Linked DNA regions of Homo sapiens: region 1 is linked to region 2. Evidence: promoter capture Hi-C in 16 types of primary human blood cells and fetal thymus (Javierre and others, 2016). All regions are on one chromosome and are shown on one strand. Each heading gives the region's core, a stretch centred on a gene start or on the middle of the fragment in contact. The rest is flanking DNA. Distances are from core to core; before and after follow the strand shown. Region 1 holds the start of SPATA31H1 (SPATA31 subfamily H member 1). Region 2 holds the start of CCDC121 (coiled-coil domain containing 121).

Region 1 (4,409 bases), core at 910-3,409, 92 kb before region 2:
TTTATTTAAAGTCTAAATGGCCAATTAACTTATGAAAGTGTGTTTTAACTTTAGTAATCAGAGAAATTCAAGTTAAAACCACAATGAAATACCACTATCACACACACCACATTGGCTTAAATTAAACAGCTTGACAATACCATGTGTTGAGATGAAAATAGAGCAAGAAGAACTACCATTCACCACTGGTAGAAGTAGAAATTGACATATCCACTTTGGAAAGCAGCTTGGCACTGTCCACTAAAGTTTGTTACACATACGCTATAACTTAGCAATTCCATTCCTAGGTAGACACTGTACAGCAGGTATTCTCAAAGTATGGTCCCTGCATCAACAGCATCAGCATCACCTGGGAACTTTGAAATGCCAAATCTTTGGGCTCCACTCCAAACCTACTCAACCAGCAACTATAGGTGTAGGGCCCGGCAATCTGGTTTATAATAAACCCTCCACATGACTGTAATGCATTTTAAAGTTTGAGAACTACTGCCATAGAGAATTAGGAACTTGTGTTTACCAAGATGCATGGACAAGGATGTTTTTGACAGCATTGTTTATAATAAGCAAACACTGAAAAGAAGCCCAATATCCATCAATACCATAATGGATAAATATGTTATAGAATAGTTATATAATACAATGAAATATTAAAAAATGATGAATTACAGCTATACAAAATATGATGGCTATCTCAAACATAATGGTGAGTAAATATTTAAGACACAAAGAATACATTTTTATATCCATATAGAGAAAGGTTCTTGTCAAACTATATATATAATATATAAATATGTTTTATATATTATATACATAATGTTTTAAGAACCCAAAACTATGTCTTCAGTTCTAATCTTTTTTTAGAACTCCAGGCTGGCATATAACTAGTACTTGCCACTTAATGTGTGTTCAGCTCATATTACATATCCATATCTTATTCTTTATCGTTATAATCTGTATAGTGACCACAGAGTATTCATAATATGGGTATAGCACATTTATTTAACTACTTTCTTCTTGATGGGCTTTTCTAGAACATTGCTTAGGCTGCCCCTGTAGGCTGAAAATTCTATGAGGTAGATACCTCATCTGTCCTCTAAGACATTACCTGCTGTTCAATAGTTCATCGAGTTGCTTTTCCAGATTAACTTTCCTATAAGAAAAAAGAATGCCTTGGCCAGTTTTATTAATCTTTGTTATAGAATGAATTGATTCCTTGTACATTTTTTGTTTATAGTGAATTAGCCCTAGAGAATCCAGTCAAGTCTGGATGACATGATGGAATAAATGTTCTAGACTTGGAAAATGAGACTGTAGATTCTGGGGTAGAGTGATCCTCTAAGGTAATTTAATTTCCCTCTCTGACATCTCTTTTCCATCTCAATGCAATAGCAGCTAGAAAATGTGTCAAGCCTTAGACTTAGGAAACCGTTTATCTCAAATTTTCTGAGAGTACCTACTTAAAATATCCTAGCTTTCTTAAATTTACTTGACCTTGGCCGGGTGCGGTGGCTCACGCCTGTAATCCCAGCACTTTGGGAGGCTGAGGCGGGTGGATCACGAGGTCAAGAGATCGAGACTAGCCTGGCAAACATGGTGAAACCCCGTCTCTACTAAAAATACAAAAATTAGCTGGGTGTGGTGTCGCGTGCCTGTAATCCCAGCAACTTGGGAGGCTGAGGCAGAGAATTGCTTGAACCTGTGAGGCGGAGGTTGCAGTGAGCTGAGATTGTGCCACTGCACTCCAGCCTGGAGACAGAGTGAGATTCCATCTCAAAAAAATAAAAATTACTTGACTTTGTATTCTAGTTTGTGGTTTGGGGCATTTAACACCATATCTGGACTTCCAGGGAGTGACTGGCTCCAGAGAAAATGCTTGTAGGGCAGAACAGGCCACTTGGGAGGCCTGCTTCTTTAAAACCTTGCCTACATACTCCCTACTTAATGACAAGCTGTCTAGCCCAGTCCTAGAAGAGTCATAAAGGAGTTCTTCCCTGAGCTTTGGCTGTCAGAGTGGAGCCTGTGGACAGCTGCAGGAAGGGGCAGCAGATTGTACTTTGGGTATGGCTCAGAGAAGAGAGCTAAGTAGCATGCACATTGGCTGGATGCTGTCAGATTTACCTTGGGATGCCCATTGTGATGTCATATGAAGTCACAGCCTTGAGGCAGAAAACTCTGGCTGAGAAGAGCATGGGGTTGAGAAATGGCACCAATTTGGGGGATGGACGTCCCACTGCCATCAGATATCAGCCTTCTATTATTGTTTGTTTTTTTTATTTGGCGGCTTTGGACACTGTTTTCCAGGAATCGGAGCTGGAAGCAGGTGGCAGCCAAGATAAACTCAGAGGTATGTGATGTAGCCCTCCCTTGAAACTAACTGGTCCCGCTCCTGAGGCCATAGAAACTGCCATACTTTGGGCCATGGGAGGAACTGGATGCAGGGAGAGGGGAGTTGAGACAGTGCCCATGGATAGTCTTCCTATAGATCACTATAAATCCTTTTTCCTTCAATTCATTTCAACAGACCTAGAGACTATCGCCATTCTCTAGGAGCTCGAGGTGAAGTGGGGGAGATGGATATACACATAACTGGAAAGAGAATGTGATTAAGAGTTAATAGAGGTATAAATGTTGCTGACATGGGAGGTAGACAGTATTTTGAACTAGGGGGCTCTATAAAATACCACCTGGGAGAGCTCAGGTTTGAGTGTGCTTCAGAGGAAGAGTGGGATTTTGAAGGTGGTTGGAGTGAATAGAGGAAGGCAGTGGAAACCTTTTAAAAAAGAGGGAATACATTGGAAAAAAGATGTGGGAAAGGGAAGCGTATTGGATGTGTTTGAGGAGAGATGTCACCAATCTGGATGGAGCATAGGACTGTAGGGACTCAGAGAGAGAAAAGATTGACAAGTTAACAGAGGTCACACTGTAGAGCTTTGAACGCCAGGCTGAATACTTGGTATAAATACAACTCTGTGCAGTTTGAAAGACATCAAAGATTTTAAAGCCAGATAAAAATGTGCTTAGATCTGTGCTTTGAGGAGCACTTCTTAAACTTTAACATGCATATGAATCACCTGGGGGATCTTGTTAAAAAGCAGATTCTGATGTAGTAAGTCTGGGGTAGGGACTGAGTTTCTACAATTCTAGCAAGCTCCCAGATGCTGCTGCTGCCCTTGGAATGAGGGCCACACAGTAAGAATGAGGTTTTGAATACCTCCAGTAAGCTTATATGGTAGTTCTCTGGCATAGCTAGGCCATTTTCATGGTTTAGTGGGAAGAAGCGAGGAAACAAAAATATCAGAGTGGCACGGTGAAAAAGAGAACGTAGCCGGGCGTGGTGGCTCTCGCCTGTAATCCCAGCACTTTGGGAGGCAGAGGTGGGCAGATCACTTGAGGTCAGGAGTTCGAGACCAGCCTGGCCAACATGGTGGAACCCCGTCTCTACTAAAAATACTAAATTAGCCAGGCGTGGTGGCGTGCACCTGTAGTCTTAGCTACCGGGGAGGCTGAAGCAGGGGAAACACTTGAACCTGGGAGGCAGAGGTTGCAGTGAGCTGAGACCACGCCATTGCACTCCAGCCTGGGTGACAGAGCGAGACTCTGTCTCAAAAAAAAAAAGGAAAAGAGAACATAAATTAATTCCCCAAGTATTTATCACCTGCTCCTACCCCCATTTCCACTCCTCTGTGCACTATTGATACAGCAGTAAGTGGAAGAGAAAAAAATATCTGCTATCAGGGATGTGAAAGTGGAGGAGGTATTGGGGTGAATGTTTGGATGTGGAAGGTGTTGCAAGACTCCCTTGCAAAGGAGGGAGAAGGGACTGAGTCTATTTTTCCTGATGCAAAGAGTTAATTATAAACATTATCATCATTTTCTTTTTTTTTTTTTTTTTTTTTTTTTAATTGATCATTCTTGGGTGTTTCTCGCAGAGGGGGATTTGGCAGGGTCATAGGACAATAGTGGAGGGAAGGTCAGTAGATAAACAAGTGAACAAAGGTCTCTGGTTTTCCTAGCCAGAGGACCCTGCGGCCTTCCGGCCTTCCGCAGTGTTTGTGTCCCTGGGTACTTAAGATTAGGGAGTGGTGATGACTCTTAACGAGCATGCTGCCTTCAAGCATCTGTTTAACAAAGCACATCTTGCACCGCCCTTAATCCATTTAACCCTGAGTGGACACAGCACATGTTTCAGAGAGCACAGGGTTGGGGATAAGGTCACAGATCAACAGGATCCCAAGGCAGAAGAATTTTTCTTAGTACAGAACAAAATGAAAAGTCTCCCATGTCTACTTCTATCCACACAGACCCGGCAACCATCCGATTTCTCAATTTTTTCCCCACTCTTCCCGCCTTTCTATTCCACAAAACCGCCATTGTCATCATGGCCCATCCCCAATGAGCCGCTGGGCACA
Region 2 (4,692 bases), core at 31-2,530:
CTGGATTCCTCCAGTAGCTGTTTCCGCTGGGTTTGAGCTTGTTTTATATGCTTGTTCAGATCCGTCATTTCCGCCACTATCTTTTCTTTAAGCCTTGTCTCTACCTTTGTTAGCTTCTCTGGCTTGACAAAATTATTTATTAGACTATGATACGGTGGAAGGAGCCTTCTGGGGCCCTCAGCAAACCTGAAAGAACAAACGAGACATTCCTCTGTCAGTTAATGAAACTTTAGGAAGTAAGTGCACAACTGTCCTTCATTCATACAAGAGAATATTTCTGAGCACCAGAATGTTCCAGACATTATGCAAGGTGTGGGGAATCCAGCTAGTGGTAAAGGATGAGGAATGTAGCTCGTCATTTACAACGTGCATTCACTACAACCCTGGGAGGTATTACCTCAGTTTTAAAAAAGGAGAAAACAGGTTCAGAGAGTTTAAGTGACTTGCCCATGACTCACACCACTAGCAAGTGGCAGAGCCTGGGTATTAAAGCCAGATCTTATGACTTACTGAACACTGTTTGCAGCTACAAAGGGTCACAGAAACAGACTGGGTGGTCAGGAGTAGAAATAATTTTCTAGGCTCTTTCATCATCTTTCCTGAGTTTCTGAGGGACCTTCAGTGACTGGAGGGGAGGAAGCTCCCCTCCAGTACCTACTTGCACCTGGAATCCAAGCATTCATCCTGAAGGTCACGGCAACTGTGTAGTTCACTGAGGGTGACTGCCAAGGAATGAGCGCTAGCATCAGGAACCTGCGTCTGCAACTCGCGGGAACAATGTGCAAGTGTGGAAAGCTCCCGTAGTTTATTCGTTCGGTGCTCAAAGGGTCTCGGTGCTGCCCAGCAACCCTGGAGACTGCACCCTGCTCCAGTCCCGGCTGGTCCAGCCCTGAACTGTTTAACCGCCTCGGCTACCGAATAAGCCCGAGCAGCCGGTCCTCCAGTGGCTCCGCTCCCCGTTCTCTGTGGGCTCAAAATGACAGGCATGCTCCTCGTTTTCTTGCTGTGTGAGCCCTGCCCTCGGGACCCCATCTCTTCTGGCCTTCCTCCGGGAGACAAAAGCCCTCCCAGGCTGCAGAGATCAGCGCCCTTTTCCTAGCTCCCTTCAGCCTTCCTCTCGCTTGCTCAGCGCCCCCACTTCCTCGCCACTGTCACTAGTTGACTCATCAGCCCTGCCCGACGCTAAGAAGATGCCCTGGCAACCGCCGCGCCCCTCACCCGCTCCTTTCTGACGCTGTGGTGGTTTTCGTTCGCAGCCCAGAACATTGCGGAAGTTTCTCTACCCATGCGGTGTCTCTATGGTCGGGTGGGTGGGGCCAGGAGGAAGATGGCGGCGTCCGCAGCTGCCGCTGAGCTCCAGGCTTCTGGGGGTCCGCGGCACCCAGTGTGTCTGTTGGTGTTGGGAATGGCGGGATCCGGGAAAACCACTTTTGTACAGGTGACGTACACAGCATGGGTGTAGTAGGGGAGCGCAAAAGGTTGCCTCCGGCAGGCGGAAGGCCAGGAAGAAAGGGAGGGAAGAGGATTTGGAGGGTACCGGCGCATGGCTTTCGGGGGCTTCCCATCAACTTTAGTTCCTTCCCCGGCAAAGCCTCCTCGGGCCCTAGCCAGGTTAATTAAGGCTCTCTTCTGCGCACCTTCAGGGCATACTCGGTCCAGCTTACCACGTTGTACAGGAATTGTCTTGCTGATAAAATTGCGTTTCTCGGAGGCAAGTTACAAGTAACTTTAAAGATTAATACAGTGCTAGCACACAGGTTTTGGTGAAGATTTGCCAAATATTTCTTGCACGCCTGTCATGTTCCATTCACTGGGGATATAGCGAAAATGAGGTTGACAAGATTCATTCGTGGGGCCAAATATTTAATGGAGGAGATAGAGAAAACCCACATACGAAGAATCAAAACAAGTAAACAAGTGACTACGAGTAGGGGAAGCTTTGTTAGATGGGTGATGAAGAAAGGTAGCATTTGAACTGAGAGTTGTATCTTGGAGGTGGACATGGTGGATATTTCAGGTAGAAGAAAATCTAAGTGCAATATTCTTAAGGCATGGGTGTTAAAGGAATGGAAGTTCTCTCTTGTCCCCTCTTTGTCTCCTTCCAACCCTCTCCCCATATCTCTGCAGAGGCTCACAGGACACCTGCATGCCCAAGGCACTCCACCGTATGTGATCAACCTGGATCCAGCAGTACATGAAGTTCCCTTTCCTGCCAATATTGGTGAGTAAACCAGTAACATAACTTGTGTGCAGTGCTTTAAAGAGAATGGAAAAGGCCAGGCGTGGTGGCTCACGGCTGTAATCTCAGCACTTTGGGAGGCCGAGGCAGGTAGATCACGAGGTCAGGAGTTCAAGACCAGCCTGGCCAAGATGGTGAAACTCCATCTCTACTAAAAATACAAAAAATTAGCCAGGCACGGTGGCAGGCACCTGTAATTCCAGCTACTCGGGAGGCTGAGGCAGGAGAGTTGCTTGAACCCGGGTGGCAGAGGTTGCAGTGAGCCAAGATCGTGCCACTGCACTCCAGCCTGGTCAATAGAGTGAGACTCTGTAAAGCCTCCAGCCTGCCAGTCTTCAGTGCCTTCTTTTTTCATGTTTTCTAAACTATCTACTTTCATTTCCTTTGGATTTGCTTGCATTCCTAAACAGCTTAGGTTTTTTTTTTTTTTTTTTTTTTTTTAGACAGAGTCTCTGTCACCCAGGCCAGAGTGCAGTGGCGTGATTCACAGGTCACTGCAGCCTCAACATCCCAGGCTCAAGTGATCCTCCCACCTCAGCCTCCTGCCGCTATGCTGGGCTAGTTTTGTTTTGTTTGGAGAGACAAGGCCTCTCTATGTTGCCCAGGCTGGTCTTGAACTCCTGGGCTCAAGTAATCCTCCTGCCTTGGCCTCCCAAAGTGCTGGGATTATAGGTGTGAGCCACTGTGCCCAGCCTAACTCCTTTTAAAAAATCATGTCTGCATTGCCATTGTGTTGCCTTTGTCAGTAATAGGCAATTAGTAAGAAGCATTTTTTCCCCCTTGATTTTTGCCTCCCTTTTTCTAGGCATGTTTAAGTTGCATGAAACTTTGCACTTTGTGGAGACAAAACTCTTTGCCACAACTTTAGAGCTCCTAGCCCTAACATTCTTCATGATTTACTTGGCATTTATTCTTTGTAAGGAAGGAAACCAGTGTGAAAGTGGAGGTGGTAGAAGAGAATGCTGACAGGAGAAGGCTAGAAGGCCAGTTTTACTTTCCTGGTGGTAGGGAATGTGTATGTATTACATTCCAGTTAATTCTTTTTTTTCTCCTCAGATATTCGTGATACTGTAAAGTATAAAGAAGTAATGAAACAGTATCCTTTTCCATCTACTTTGGTCTTGACTCATTCCTGGCTTCTTGTCTGTGTATTTTGTGGCTTGAAAGAGTGTTTTTGCCTTTTCCTTGTGAAATATACAAGCAAAAGGATGGAAGCTGATTGTGGGAGAGGTAGGTGATCAGAAATACTATTTCAGCTTGAGATTTTAGTTTTCTTACCATCTCCCCAGATGGCAGGCTGTTGTAATTAAAGAGCAGAGAGTATGATAGGATAACTGACAGCTACCTGGGTCCCACAAGGTAGTATTTTGCCTTGGAGGATCATCTGTTGGTCACCACCTCTTTAGACTGGGAAACTCAGAAATGAGTGAGTTTAGTTGGATTAACTCTTAGTAAATTGCTGTATGAAATGTGTACTCTCTCCGTAGGCAAGTCTAAGTAGGAAGACTAATCATAATCAGCAGATTGCTTGGTTTATTTATGAGGATCAGAGCCGGAGGTGTTATACAGGTGGCCTTAATGACCAATGCCAGTGGGCTGTCACTGCCTGATGCACCTGTATTACATTTTGGTCACTTTGCTTTCTTCATTTTGCCTGACCACTCCTTAAATCAAATGAGTGAGCCAGACCTTGATAATGACTGTTTCCCTGTGTGGTTAAGTTTGTATGGTAGTCAAGGATTAGGTTGCCAGTATCCATTAATGGAACACTAATTTCATAATGCCGTTTGTGTGAATGATAGCCTAGGTATGAACTTTATAATCTAATCTATAAGCGATTTCAGTCCTCAACTTGGTGTCTAGATATGGACTTGGACCCAATGGCGGCATAGTGACCTCACTCAATCTCTTTGCTACCAGATTTGATCAGGTATATCTGTCTTTAGTATATTAATATGGTTGTGTAAAAATCTGTGACTCTTAAATTCCTTAGCTTGATCACATTGGTAAAGAAGAGCAGCAAACCTGAGCATAAATATAGAAAATAAGTAGGCATTTTGTCAGACAGAGAAGTAGACTATGAGAAGGTGATCAGTATGGTCAGACACTTCAAATTTAATATTTGTGACAGCTAATAAAAATCCAAAAGACCTGGGTTATTTTCTTGACCTGTTCTTTGCCTGTGGTATTACCCCGAAGCTGGGATGGGGGTATTTGGGAGTGGGATGGACTAGCAGTCATGGAATGGAAAGATGATGGGGCATTTTACTTGTGATAAATATTTGTCATTCTTTAGGTTTTCTTTGTCACCTACTTCCATAAGAGTGTTTTATAATCACTGGTTTTTATACTCTGATGTTAGGCCATGAGACAGGCTGTTAACATTTTGACAAGAGATAACAACTTGACATTGACAGATCAAAGTCTTCAGCTTCTCAGATCCTTGGATTGTG

Evidence for each region. Contacts are between HindIII fragments. The CHiCAGO score rates a contact against its expected background, and 5 or more counts as called.
Region 1: a contact is called between the fragment with the promoter of SPATA31H1 here and the fragment with the promoter of CCDC121 in region 2, in 1 of 17 cell types (endothelial precursors). The highest score is 5.4, in endothelial precursors.

What each region holds. Positions count from the first base shown.
Region 1 is chr2:27,535,227-27,539,635 of GRCh38, forward strand. It overlaps SPATA31H1 (SPATA31 subfamily H member 1), which reads left to right and starts at 2,160. Exons shown (of 5, transcript NM_032266.5): 1 at 2,160-2,344. The coding sequence starts at 2,201. RefSeq lists an enhancer at 2,156-2,450. The HindIII fragment of the contact is 4,761 bases long and covers 1-3,219 here.
Region 2 is chr2:27,627,732-27,632,423 of GRCh38, forward strand. It overlaps CCDC121 (coiled-coil domain containing 121), which reads right to left and starts at 1,281. Exons shown (of 2, transcript NM_024584.5): 1 at 1,219-1,281; 2 at 1-186. The coding sequence starts at 68. GPN1 (GPN-loop GTPase 1) reads left to right here and starts at 1,319. Exons shown (of 14, transcript NM_007266.4): 1 at 1,319-1,438; 2 at 2,128-2,221; 3 at 3,296-3,335; 4 at 4,103-4,169. The coding sequence starts at 1,328. RefSeq lists a silencer at 251-545 and enhancers at 994-1,053, 1,114-1,423, 1,464-1,563. The HindIII fragment of the contact is 4,758 bases long and covers 1-1,935 here.